2 separate regions of the Homo sapiens genome follow, and region 1 is linked to region 2. The links are contacts of gene promoters, found by promoter capture Hi-C in human tissues and cell types (Jung and others, 2019). All regions are on one chromosome and are shown on one strand. Each heading gives the region's core, a stretch centred on a gene start or on the middle of the fragment in contact. The rest is flanking DNA. Distances are from core to core; before and after follow the strand shown. Region 1 overlaps LINC02207 (long intergenic non-protein coding RNA 2207). Region 2 holds the start of MCTP2 (multiple C2 and transmembrane domain containing 2).

What was found. Contacts are between HindIII fragments. The study calls those that stand out against the background at their distance.
Region 1: a contact is called between a fragment that was not itself captured here and the fragment with the promoter of MCTP2 in region 2, in 1 of the 25 tissues and cell types used here (lymphoblastoid cells).

The regions. Positions count from the first base shown.
Region 1 is chr15:93,875,753-93,882,176 of GRCh38, reverse strand. LINC02207 (long intergenic non-protein coding RNA 2207) reads right to left here. Exons shown (of 4, transcript NR_120321.1): 4 at 3,821-4,143. Among named protein-coding and RNA genes, the nearest start is that of LINC01579, 22 kb to the left of the region's middle. The HindIII fragment of the contact is 6,244 bases long and covers 1,288-6,424 here.
Region 2 is chr15:94,226,957-94,232,917 of GRCh38, reverse strand. MCTP2 (multiple C2 and transmembrane domain containing 2) reads right to left here and starts at 1,357. Exons shown (of 23, transcript NM_001385001.1): 1 at 1,254-1,357. RefSeq lists a silencer at 1,298-1,427 and an enhancer at 2,963-3,102. The HindIII fragment of the contact is 15,455 bases long and covers 1-5,961 here.

The DNA of each region.
Region 1 (6,424 bases), core at 3,160-5,659, 350 kb after region 2:
ACTACTTCAACCAGAGGTAATAAGATTATAGCCATGTGGAACGCTTTCAGAAGATGACATCCTTTGAAAGGCATATAATTGGTGGTTTTATTGGAATACTGCATCGAGCTAACTTTTATAAATATGCAGAATGCCTGAGAAAAGCTGAAACTCTATTGAATGATTTGGAGAAGGCAGACATTGCCAATTTCCACACTACAGTGCTTCTGAGTAGATTATGTGGAGACTGGTGCCCATAGCTTGAATCAAGGGCTACTTAGACTTTGTGAGAGAGGTTCACAGTTTCAACTGGGTGATGGTTCCTCTTGGAACTAAAAATGACAGAAATTATTGAAATTATCATTGTCAAACATCTCACCAAGCTGTCAACCTCATTAAGTAAATAAGTAAGTAAATATTTATTTATTTAAAGCCCAATTATGAACAAGTTTGTAAGTGAGAAAGGGTGGGGCTGCTCAAGAAGTCTATTTTTCATATAGACCAGATAGACCAGACCTTAAGCCAAAAAAAATATAAAGCTCCTAAATGTAAACCAGGCTTTGCATGCATTTGGCACATTTAAATGTGAACCCTCAAATACAGTGCCACCCTAAGGTATGTAAAGTATGACCCAGTGGTGGCTTGAGCACTGCTTGAGTAAGAGGAGGACTCCAAGAGGACTTGTTGAGCTAAAGGTGAGAGGAGAAGCCAGGCAAGGTGGCACACCCCAGTAGTCTCAGCTACCAGAGGCTCAAGTGGGAAGGTCACTTGAGCCTAGAAGTTCAAGTACAGCCTGGGCATCATAGTGAGACTCCACCTGTAAAAACAATAATTGAGGTGATGGATAAAAGAGGAAATTCACAAGGCTGAAAAACTGGCATAAAATTATGGGAGGAGCATAAACTTCATGGCCAGGAACTAATCGTTTTCACGGATTAAATAAACACAAATTGGGTGCTCCAGTGGGGCAATCTGTTAGTGTGTGGTACTTATACATAAATACACATGAAATATTTTTATAAGTCATTTTAGGAACAGTGCTAAATCCCAGGAATAGGAAAAAGAATCATACAAGGTAATTAATAAATTATTTTTTGATATGGTTTGGCTGTGTCCCCACTCAAATCTCATCTTAAATTCCCACCTGTTGTGGGAGGGACCCAGTAAAAGGTAATTGAATCATGGGTACAGGTCTTTCCCATGCTGTTCTCATGATAGTGAATAAGTCTCATGAGATCTCATCGTTTTAAAAAGGGGAGTTTCCCTGCACAAGCTCTCTTCTCTTGTCTGCTGCCATGTGAGACGTGACTTTCACCTTCTGCCATGATTGTGAGGTCTCTCCAGCCATGTGGAACTGTAAGTCCAGTAAACCTCTTTCTTTTGTAAATTGCCTGGTCATGGGTATGTCTCTATCACCAGTGTGAGAACAGACTAATACATTTTTCTTTACAGTGATTTCTTAGTTTAGTGAAGGAATGAGACATGTGGACAGATATTTACCTTAGTAGACAGGAATTCACAAGATACAATGGGCACACAGCACAGAAAGAACTACACACTCAAACACTGAAGAATTTCTAAAGTAAGTTATGCAAGCAAGTGATCCTTGAGGAATATTTTCCAGAAAGCTAGTTATGTAATACATTAGGATAGGCCAATACTAGAAAGGAGGAAAATCTCCAGAATGCTATTGTAGCAATTCAGGCTCCAGTGGGATATGGCCTAAAGAAATAATATTTGGTATTAAAAGCTGATTTTATGAGTATTCAAGAAGAAATTTGCTTTCCCGTTCATTCTCTTGTATGGCTCACATTGTGTGTGTCTGTGTGTGTGTGTGTGTGTGTATACTCAAACTTCATCAATCCACACTCATTCAATAACTAGTTATCTATTTGTTAATCATTTATTGTGTCCCAGGAACTGAGCTAAGAACTGCCGGAACAAAATGGATGGTATAAGAGCCCTATCCAATAGGTACCACTAATTGAATGACCTCTTTGTATCTATCTAAAGACTTAGCCTAAGTTAAGCAAAGCCTGACACTATGTAATCTCCTATATTATGGCATCATGTTGTGGGGATAATGAGTTGAAGTAAAAAGAGCATGGTGTAGCTAGACAGAGGGTCTCAAACTTGAGTGTGTATCAGAATCACCCAGAAGACTAAAACAAGGATTAGTGGACCCTGCTCCAGAATTTCTGATTCAGTAAGTCTGGGTGGAGGCTGAGATCTTTAATTCCAACATATTTTCAGGGAATGTTGATGCTACTGGTCCAGGAATAATACTTTGAGAACCTTTGGAGATATACTAGTTTCTCATTTCTCTTTCTTTATTACTCTAGCTCAGAGAATCTATCCTTCCTTGTCAACACTAGCGGCACCAAAGGTTGAATTCTATGTGGTTCAGCTTTCTGCTTAACATGTGGACTTTTCTCTCCCCAGGACTAAGTTGCAATCTGTTGGATTTCTTTGAGTTTTGTTCTTGTCCAGGGAAAGATGTTCATTAAATAGTAGCTGATGTGGCCGGGTGCAGTGGCTCACACCTGTAATCCCAGCACTTTGGGAGGCCGAGGCGAGCGGATCACCTGAGGGCAGGAGTTCGAGACCAGCCTGGCCAACATGGCAGAACCTTGTCTCTACTAAAAAAAAAAAAATACAAAAATTTGCTGGGTGTGGTGGCGTGCACCTATAATCCCAGCTACTTGGGAGGCTGAGTTAGAAGAATCACTTGAACCTGGGAGGCAGAGGTTGCAGTGAGCCAAAATTGTGCCACTGCACTCCAGCCTGAGAGACAGAGTGAGACTCCATCTCAAAAATAAAATAAAATAAAACGAAAAAAGAAAGTAGCTGACATATAAAGTGTCATGATCCCCAGACTCAGGGGAAGAGACGTGGCCTCTCAGATGAGGGTGGGTGAAGTTTAGTAGCAAACTTACCTGGGGCACCTCCCAGCTGATACCTCTGCATCATGACCTGAACATCTGAACATATGTGCCTTGAGAAAGCAGTCTTTGCCCAAAAGCGTGGGTCCCACAAACTCAAAAGAAGCTCTCAGTGTTTAAAATGAAAAAAGCTCAATCATGACAATAGAAACCATATTCACTATGCAGGAAATTGAAGTTCAAGTCTTACCTATATATCTGAGAAAAAGAAAAACCTGTGTTCAACCTCGGAGTAATCCCTAATGAACTACAAGAATCTCTGTGTGCCCTTTATCAGGTGACCAGCTAGCCATGCAGTCAGTTCGCATCACTGCAGAGCATATGAGGAAAGATGCACTACATTCATTTTCATGCACTTTTTACATATTGAAGTCAAAACTCCAATGTGTAAACTGAAAATTTGAAAAAAAAATTAGCACAATTTCCTCCAGGATTATTTGGCTTGCAAAAATGAAAGTGTAGTTTTATTTTAAGTGACTTTGGGTGTTCTCCCTATCGAAGTCTGGCTACATGTAGTAGAATTTATCTCATTCGTATATGGGGAAAATTAAGCCCTATTTCAGCATATGTCTAAGGACCACTTTACTGCGTGTACAGAGACCCAGGGCACTGGGGAGAAGACATGTTGCATTTAGCCAAGCTTTGATAAAGTAGGATAAGATCTGGGAGGACCTTGCACAAGCAAGGTTTCCACGTTAAAAGAGTTTGAATACACAGATTCCCATCAAAATTATGAATCTCTAGCCCAGTGCGTGGCACATTAAAAGCACTCCATAAATACTTTTGATTTGGAATTTAGTAGAGAAAAAAAGAGCCAAGATTTGTTGGGTTTCACTCTTGAACCTGTAACTCATTTTGTTCTGAAAACATTCCCCAGTAAAAAGGCTTGGACATCCATCTACAGCCTTGGCCATCCATATATATTTCTCTTAATTTTCCACAATATGTCCTCAGCAAGTGTAAAGTTGTAGAAAGGTGAACACCATGGTGTCCTGTAGAAGAAATAAATAGGAGGTCATTTTCCAAGATGCATGGTGACTCTAGACATCATCAGGCCTCACTGTAAAACCTTGCTTTTCCGGATGGTGAATGGATGTGAAAAGTTTTACAAACACTTCTTTTCCAAATGTTGAAGAATTTTAATTTTTTTCTTGTTGTAAAATGTTGATGCTCCAGCCATTGAAAATAGTGCAATATGAAAACTTGCTGATCTGCTTTTTGTCTAGAGAAAGAAAACAATTTGTTTGGCACAAGTCATTGATTTTCCAGTAATTTGAGCAATAAAGGGACTAAATTCTTAGAAAAAATACCAAATCCAACCCCACCTGCCTGATGTTTTCATAAGATACTGCATACTCAGCTTAGAGTCCAGAAACATTTATAATTTGCAGTTCTTAATGAACTGATGGAAAGGCAAAGATGTTAATAATTTCTACAGTTTACAAGCTAAAGGTATACTCATAAATTCCTAAGTAATTATGAACAAAATATTTAAACTCTTGGCCTCAATTTATTCAGTGATAATGTAAGAGCACCAAACTACCTGCTTCTCCAAGTATGTATTAATAAGTAATAGTAAAAATGATAATAATGACTCCTTTTTGAATGCTAGTGTTTTCTACATGTCAGGCATTATGCTAAAACCTTTACTTGAATTATCTCATTTTGTTCTTACCACAACCCTAAAACATGTTCTATGATGTCATTTTACAGATAGAGAAAACCAAGGTTATTTAGAGGATAAGCAACTTTCCCGAGTGAACAAAAACAGACCTAGGATAAATTCAAGTCTACCTAACTATAAAACCAGTGTCCACAAACACTTGTCAAAATTATAAATACGTTCTCAGATTAAATATTATTATTTCCCCCTTTAAAGGACATATATGGGCATACACTAAGCCATGAAGTAAATGATAGATAATAGATAGATAGATGATAGAGATAGATCACACACATACTTGTTTCTTTCCAATTCCAACAGCCCACTCTGTTTTTTCCATGACTCTGAATAGATTATTTCTGTTACTTTGGATAGGAGGGTTGATTTCATAAAACAAAAAATAAAAATAAAATCTTTTATCACCTTTAGATATAAATGACTTGTTTTTGCAATTCATGTAAATAACGAAAATTCAAACTTGTTTCACAGTTAAAATTTCTTTCTTCTTACTTCCAGATGTAGATTCAGATTCAGGGGCCTAACGCTCACACACTTTGGTGTATAACCTATTTTTTGAAAAGGGATGCAAATTTTGAAATATAAAAGTAGTTACAAAAGTGAATATTTAGTGTGATGTCAGCAAGAGGGTGGATTAGGAAGCTCCAGTTCATAGAAGGCCGTGGTACTTACTGTAGTATATGAAAACCACAGAGGCACTTCAGACCATTGAACATCTAGAGTGAAGAGATTACAGGCCAAGGAATGCAATAGAACATTTAGAACCCCCTAGAAAAAGCTAGAGTGAGATATTTTGGGAAATTAAGACACTTAAAACAAGCCTGGAAACACACAGGGACAGACACACACACACAGAGGCCCAGACAGAATGCATACCCAGAAAGGATCTGAAAAGACATTAAGACTTCAACCCAGGCTAATGTCAAGGATAGGTGGGCCCACTAAGTAGTAACAGTCTTCCACATCAGTTTGCAAAGATGGGGAGAAGTGTCCACTTTTTTCAAATGCCCAATTTTTAACAACAACAAGAAAAAAAAGGCATAAAATGAAATTGGGAAATATGACCCATGTAGAGGAACAACATAAATGTTGTTATATATGTATATATAAATATATATATATAGATTTATATATATACACACACGCAATGGAATACTATTTAGCCATACAAAAGAATGCAATTATGTTATTTTCAGCAATATAGATGAAACTTGAGGTCATTATGTTAAATGAAACAATCCAGGGACAGGAAAGACAAATACCACATATTCTCATATGTGGGAGCTAAAAAAGTAGAACTCGACCGGGTGCAGTGGCTCACGCCTGTAATCCCAGCACTTTGGGAGGCTGAGGTGGGTGGATCACTTGAGGTCAGGAGTTCGAGACCAGCCTGACCAACATAGTGAAACCCCATCTCTACTAAAAATACAAAATTACCCAGGCCTGGTGGCGCATGCCTGTAACTCTCGCTACTTGGGAGGCTGAGGCAGGAGACTTGCTTGAACCCAGGAGGCAGAGTTTGCAGTGAGCCGAGATCTTGCCATGGCACTCCAGCCTGGGCAACAGAGAGAGACTCTATCTCAAAAAAAAAAAAAAAATCATGAAAGTGATTAATAAAATGCCAGATACCAGAGGATGGGAAGAGTGTGGGTGGGAGGAAGGATGAAGAGAAATTATTTAATGAGTATAAACATACAGTTAAAATAAATAAGCTCTAATGTTTGATAGCAGAGCGGGGTGACTATAGTTAGCAACAGTGCATTATATATTTTAAAGTAGCTAGAAGAGAGGGCTCGAAATGTTCCCAACACACAAAAATGAT
Region 2 (5,961 bases), core at 108-2,607:
GACAAGACAAAGTGCCTAGCATGGTGCTTGGCACAGAGCTAATTCTTAATAATCTTATTTTAAGCATGGTTTTGACAATTTTTATTGCTTTGGAATGACTGATCAGGCTAATGACAGAGACTCTTCAAAGATTTACATTCTCCCTGCATTTAAATACTTATAACCAGCGATTACACAGGTGCTGCTGAGGCAAAGCGCAGCACCATTGGTCTCGTTCTAAACACCCACCTGTGAGGAATAAGTGCCTTAAGATTCCCCTTTGTATTAATATCAACACCTGTGCTACCCAACAGCACACCAGCCCGGCTCTCAGAGGTCTGCCCGTTAACAGGTGTACAATAAATATTTGTTGAATTGAAATGCTACTGACTCAAGCAAAAAATGAATGCTAATGTAAATTATAATCCATACAAATCCTTCAATAAGTGGTGTCTGAATTCTGTGCGTCCTGAAGCAAGTGTTCTAACGTCTCACGGTTCACTGAGAAGCTGCTTGGTACCTTAAGGGTTCGCACCCTTGTACCTTCCAGACCAAGCTCTTGTAAGCATCTAGAGGAGGCTGAAACCCTCAGTCAGCATCGCACAGAAGTTCATTCAGACTAGAGAAAACCTCTTTTATGGCAACCCAATCATTTAAAAAAAGCCGTCAGCACATTTGCTTAACAAATGGACAGTGCAGGAGGGAACTAATTGCGGAAACTAATCGCCACTCAAGTTCACCACCAACATCACTGTCTTTATTTTTAACTTACTTATCTTCAGTGGGATTGAGACACTGTTTGTTACCTACGCAATTATCCCAAGGATTTCTGCTCCGGTGTCGTTGAGCAAATGTCAGCGCAAAGAATTAAAGTTGAACCTCCGGGTCTCTACGAAGAGAGCGTATTAAAGCCCACCCAGCTGAGGAACTGACCTCTGTGGAAGGAGTCCTGGATGTGGCGGTGACTACCTCCGTAGCGCCCCGGGGAGACTGAATGTGTGGCCTTTAAAATGCAAAGAAATTCTGGGCCAGGCTGCCCTCCCCTAGTGCGCCTTCCAGTACGCCACGCCTGGATTTCTGCCTCCAGTCCTCAGGACACCTTTCTGATCTCTGAACCACAAGCAGCTCCGGGGTAGTAGCGCCACTGAATTCTCATCCTGGACCCTCCAGCTCCCCAACTCCCAGCTTCGGTTGAGAGAAGACGCCCACCCCCAGGCGGCGACCGTGCTGCCCGGCCCACGCGCGCTGCCAGGTGAACCCGGCACCGCCCTCACCTGTGCGAGGCCGCGTTCGGGGGCTGCAAAGCTGGGCAGGCGCGCGCCCCTCACCTGCACCGGACCCGCTGCAGTCGCCACTCGGAAGCGCAGGGAGCAACCCTGACGCGGCGGGGGCGGGGGCATCACCGAGGGCCCCCGGACTTCCTCGGGCCCCCCCACCGCCCTTGCGAGCCCCGCCTAAAGGGGAGGAGGCGGCCGCGCGTCACCTTTGAGCAGCCTCCGACCCAAGCGCCCGCGCTGCCGCCGGGAGCTCGGCCGGGTGTTGCAAGGAGGCGCTATGCTTGGTGCTGGGCACTGGCTGGGCGTAGAGAAGGCGATTACTTGTAACTCATTCGTTTGGGTTGGCTCACAGGAAAAGGAAGGTGTGTCCAAAAAGTCCGAAGTGAGGAAATAGGACGAGGATGGCTTGCAAACTCGTAAAGTCTTAATAAGCTGTCTTCGCTGATACTCAGAAGGGTTCTCTTCGCTCCTGTAGGTCCCTAATAGATTCATGGGAAGACAGCAGCCTCCCTTTGTAACGCCCTGACCCTGGGAAGAGGTACCCGAGCCAGACAGCCTATTAACCTATGCCACGTGTGCGCGACTGTGGGTGGAAGATGCCCGCCCAGATCCACAGAACTGTTTCCTGAGCCTTGGTGCCTCATCTATGAGATAAGGCCGGCGTACTGCTCAGCAAGCCGTCCCGAGTACTCGGCAGAGAACCCTAAAGACCCTCCCGTGCGATTGTTGGCACTCAGCGAATATTTGCTATTTATTTCCCCTTTCCCTTACTTTCTTTTTCTACTTTTTTTTACGCCGCTTTCCTGCTGTAATTGTCTTATTGCACTTTGTTTGCTCGGTTTCACTGCCTGGTCAGTTTCTTTTCCCGTCTATGAACGAGCCTAAGTCTGTGCGCTCTAGGAATTTGGGTGGATTAGGAAAAGAAATGTATGATCCATGCCTTCTGGGAGATCAGGGACTCATCTCTGGGAAATAGCATTTTTAAATTAGATACAAGAGAGTTACAGAAAATAACCTTAAAACGGGAATGGGACCTCTGGGAATAGGCGAGCTCTGAAATGAAGCGTTTAGTTGGTGTCACTGGTGATTAAGAGCTCCGGCTTTGGAGTCAGACCTCAAATCAAATTCTGCCTGGGCAACTAATTGTGTAAATGGACGAGTTCACTTAACCTCTCTAAATTTTAACTTCAACAAACTGGTTGTTTAAATAGCTTAAAATAGCTTAAATAGCTTAAAATAATAGCTATCTCATACTTTCTGAGAAATTAATTAGGTAATTCACATAAAATCCTCATTACAGTGTCCTGGGCCATGGTAACCACTTAATAAAAGTTAGCTATTAACAATACTAAGGTAGGAAATGGGAGGAAGGGGCATAAAAATTTAGAAAACATGAGGACGTGATAGAAAACAGCTGCCACTGTCATGCAATTCCGACTTACAACAATAGCTACCACTGAGGAACACAACTTCGCACCAGTTTCTGTGATTGGCATGTAACACGTGATCATATTGAATTTTCACAAACCAGGAGACAGTTAATAAAATCTCTGATTCAAGATGAGGAAAATGAGCATCAGAACCATGAAATAACCTGCCTGAAGCTATGAGTCAAGTTAGTAGCCGAGTCAGAGCAAGCTGAGGCCTATGGCAAAATTGGCTTTTCCCACCGTGCCGAAGGTTACATCCCCTAGCAGAGAACAGAGAGAGGTAAGGGTAAAACAGCATGAAAGGAAGAAGAGAAAGAGCAGTAGGCAGACGAAGCAATCATACCTTTAAAGCTGACTAAGAATACAAATGAATTAAAATAGTAAGTGAACCCACACAAAAGCTTTTTTGCCTTTAACTCCTGCCCCAGTGGAGTTCCTGTTCTGTGGTTCCGGCAGTCCAACCGCATTTTTCAATCATTAAATGGTATAGAAAGTGAAACAACTAAAGATACAGAAATCTAAGGTCACAACTTGCCCTTCCCACCACAATACACTCATCTGCCCAGCTTCCTGGGTTTTTTGTTTTTAATTGTTCAAACATATTACCTGTCTCCTTTTCTATGTTCCACCCAGGAAATGTCCCTTCCAGGGAATAATATTGTTGCTTATACCAATTTAACTTTACTACATAACCACACCAGCATTTAGAATGGCAACTGGACTCATACATGTAGCTGATAAATTTTTAACACACTTTTGTTATATTGAATTTCTCTAAACAGATTTTGAACCAGGTCTTACATTATAGGCACTGGTCAGTGATGTCATAATTATACTTAAAAAAAAATAAAATCTCCTGCACGTATCATAGGCAGCTTTCTCTCTCTTCTGAGCAACCAGATATTTGGCCTCTGAAGAAATGCCCCTATTGTCAATGTGATAATTGAGGTGGAGATTTCCCACTTTCAGATACAATTGCTTTTATATCTTAGACAATGTATGTTTGGTTGCATGACAATCTAATATTGGCACCTCTTCTTTTAAATTGTAAATGGAAGATGTGTCTTCTGAAGGCCCAGTGTACTCCTTGGCTATCATGGCTATACTGCCTGTCATACATGCAGAAGCACGGTTAAGTGCATACAAAGGCTAGATAACAATTAGTGCAGTTATCTAGCCACGTCCCTGTGCCTTTTTGAATGAGCCAGAGTATTTCAAATGAAACAAATGAAAATTGCTGTAGCCACCCAGAGTCTTTGACAATGAGGGTTAAAGCAGTCTTCTCTAAAGAAGACAAGACCCTGTCTGTAAATGCATAGGATCTAGAGTTCCATATCTTCTCTGCTCAGTGGGAGCCTCCTTGGGTCATCCTATCAGAGTTGGCCATGCAGTCAACACAGTCTGGCTCCATTTGGAGGACACAGAGCTAATCTTGCTGGGACAAGTCCCTTTATGTCAAAGAGAAAGCTGTCTGAGATCTGCTAGCAGTAATGTAAGGGCTTGGCACCTAGCTTCCCTCACATTTTCCTTCGTTGGTGCTTCTCATCATTTCTGGGCCGATAAGAGCAGAAGTAGAAAAATGACTGAGACATAAACATGTCAATTTAGATCTACCAGGGGTTAAAACGAATATAATGGTTAAAGCAAACTTCAGTCTATTGTCCAAGTAACAAATGTTTATTTTAGTGTGTGCTTTAAGGAAGAATATGCACTCTGTTACGTGGCGTTGAGAAATGGTACTTCTTTTATTGTTAGTGCAAATAGTCTTTGTTATTATATGTACTCAGGATTTTTTTTCCTTTGGTATAATTATCATGTTATCCCCTTTTTATAGGCAGGTGTGGAGAGACCAAATTTAGTGACTCACTCCAGACCTAGCTCTGCCACTTACTAGTTACGAGTTTATCCTGTAGGCTTCACTTTCTTGAACAAAAGAATGGACCTAACAGAAAATGAGTCCTATTCTCTAATTATTCAGAAAGACTTCTTATAAAATCTCTTTGGAAATCAACATCAGCATTGAATTGTCCTAATGATGATTCTATGTATCAAGTTCTTTTCTTTCAAATACCTAAACATGTATTTAACACAAGCTGATTAGCTGGAAATGTTCACAGGTAGTAAGTTGTTCAAAGATCGACTTTTATGGATGTTGTACCTTTATTGGGTGGGAACTTTTATGGCCAAAATGAACATCTGGTAGTGGTTGCTTCTGAAAAGTTAAAATTATTAGAGGCTTGGAGTTAACTCTTAAGAGACTGAGTCTGCCATTCATTAGATGGGTAAAGAAGAACCAAATTTACTTCTTCAGATGAAGGTTAACTTTGCCCAAGATTACTATCTCAGTACCAACATTTTTGTCTGACGATCTGAATTTCATTCAGTTAATTGCTTAAAACTTCCCCTAGGCCAGGGGAGAGGTTCATACTGTAGAGAATTTCTGTGGCCCCAAATCACATTTATTGAATTGTTCTCTAGTGTGTTGTCATTGGCAATAGTGGGGGGTATCTTAAGAATCTACCTTGGGAAATACGTTGTTGAACATACATTTGGCATGTTGGTCGGGGTCATTGTTTTTTAAAATTACACTGCCTGTTTTAAGATGATCCAAGGTAGAAGTTATCACTCATCTCAGATACAAAAATCTTGAGCTTTTCCACAACAAATGGTTTGTTTGCATCTTATGGGTTCTGCAAATAACACAGTTGAATTTGTTTTCCTCTCTAATTGAGCCACTAGAATGCACAGAGTGGCTCACCTCTGGCAAGTATTCAGAAATGCTTATTTGTGCATTGCACATTACAGTTATCTGTTTTTCTACCTGTATTTTCCAAAATGAGAGATGAAACTAGGGGAATTTTCAGGACAAGAATATTTAGATAACAATCAATTCTCCATGCAAAATAAGAAGTACATTCATTGATGTATTCATTCACATAATTAGCATGTATTCATCATCTACAACCAGGACCACAAACTAGGGTGCCTACATGGGTGAGACTGGTGAAATAGAGATTGACTGTGGTCACATATAAGAAGATAGAGACTGTGGCAAATAGCAGAGAGTAGGCCCACCTAAAGACATTCAAATTTACTTATTGTTAACCCTGTGCTGGCTAAAAAATACAGGTGGCCGAAAGCCTGGCAACCAGTTTGAATCCCCTGATCCATATATTAAGCTCTGTGATAAACTCTGTGGATATAACACAAATATGATAGCTTCTGCCCTCCAATGGCTCACATTTTCGCTAGATGTGTAAACAGATAAACACAAT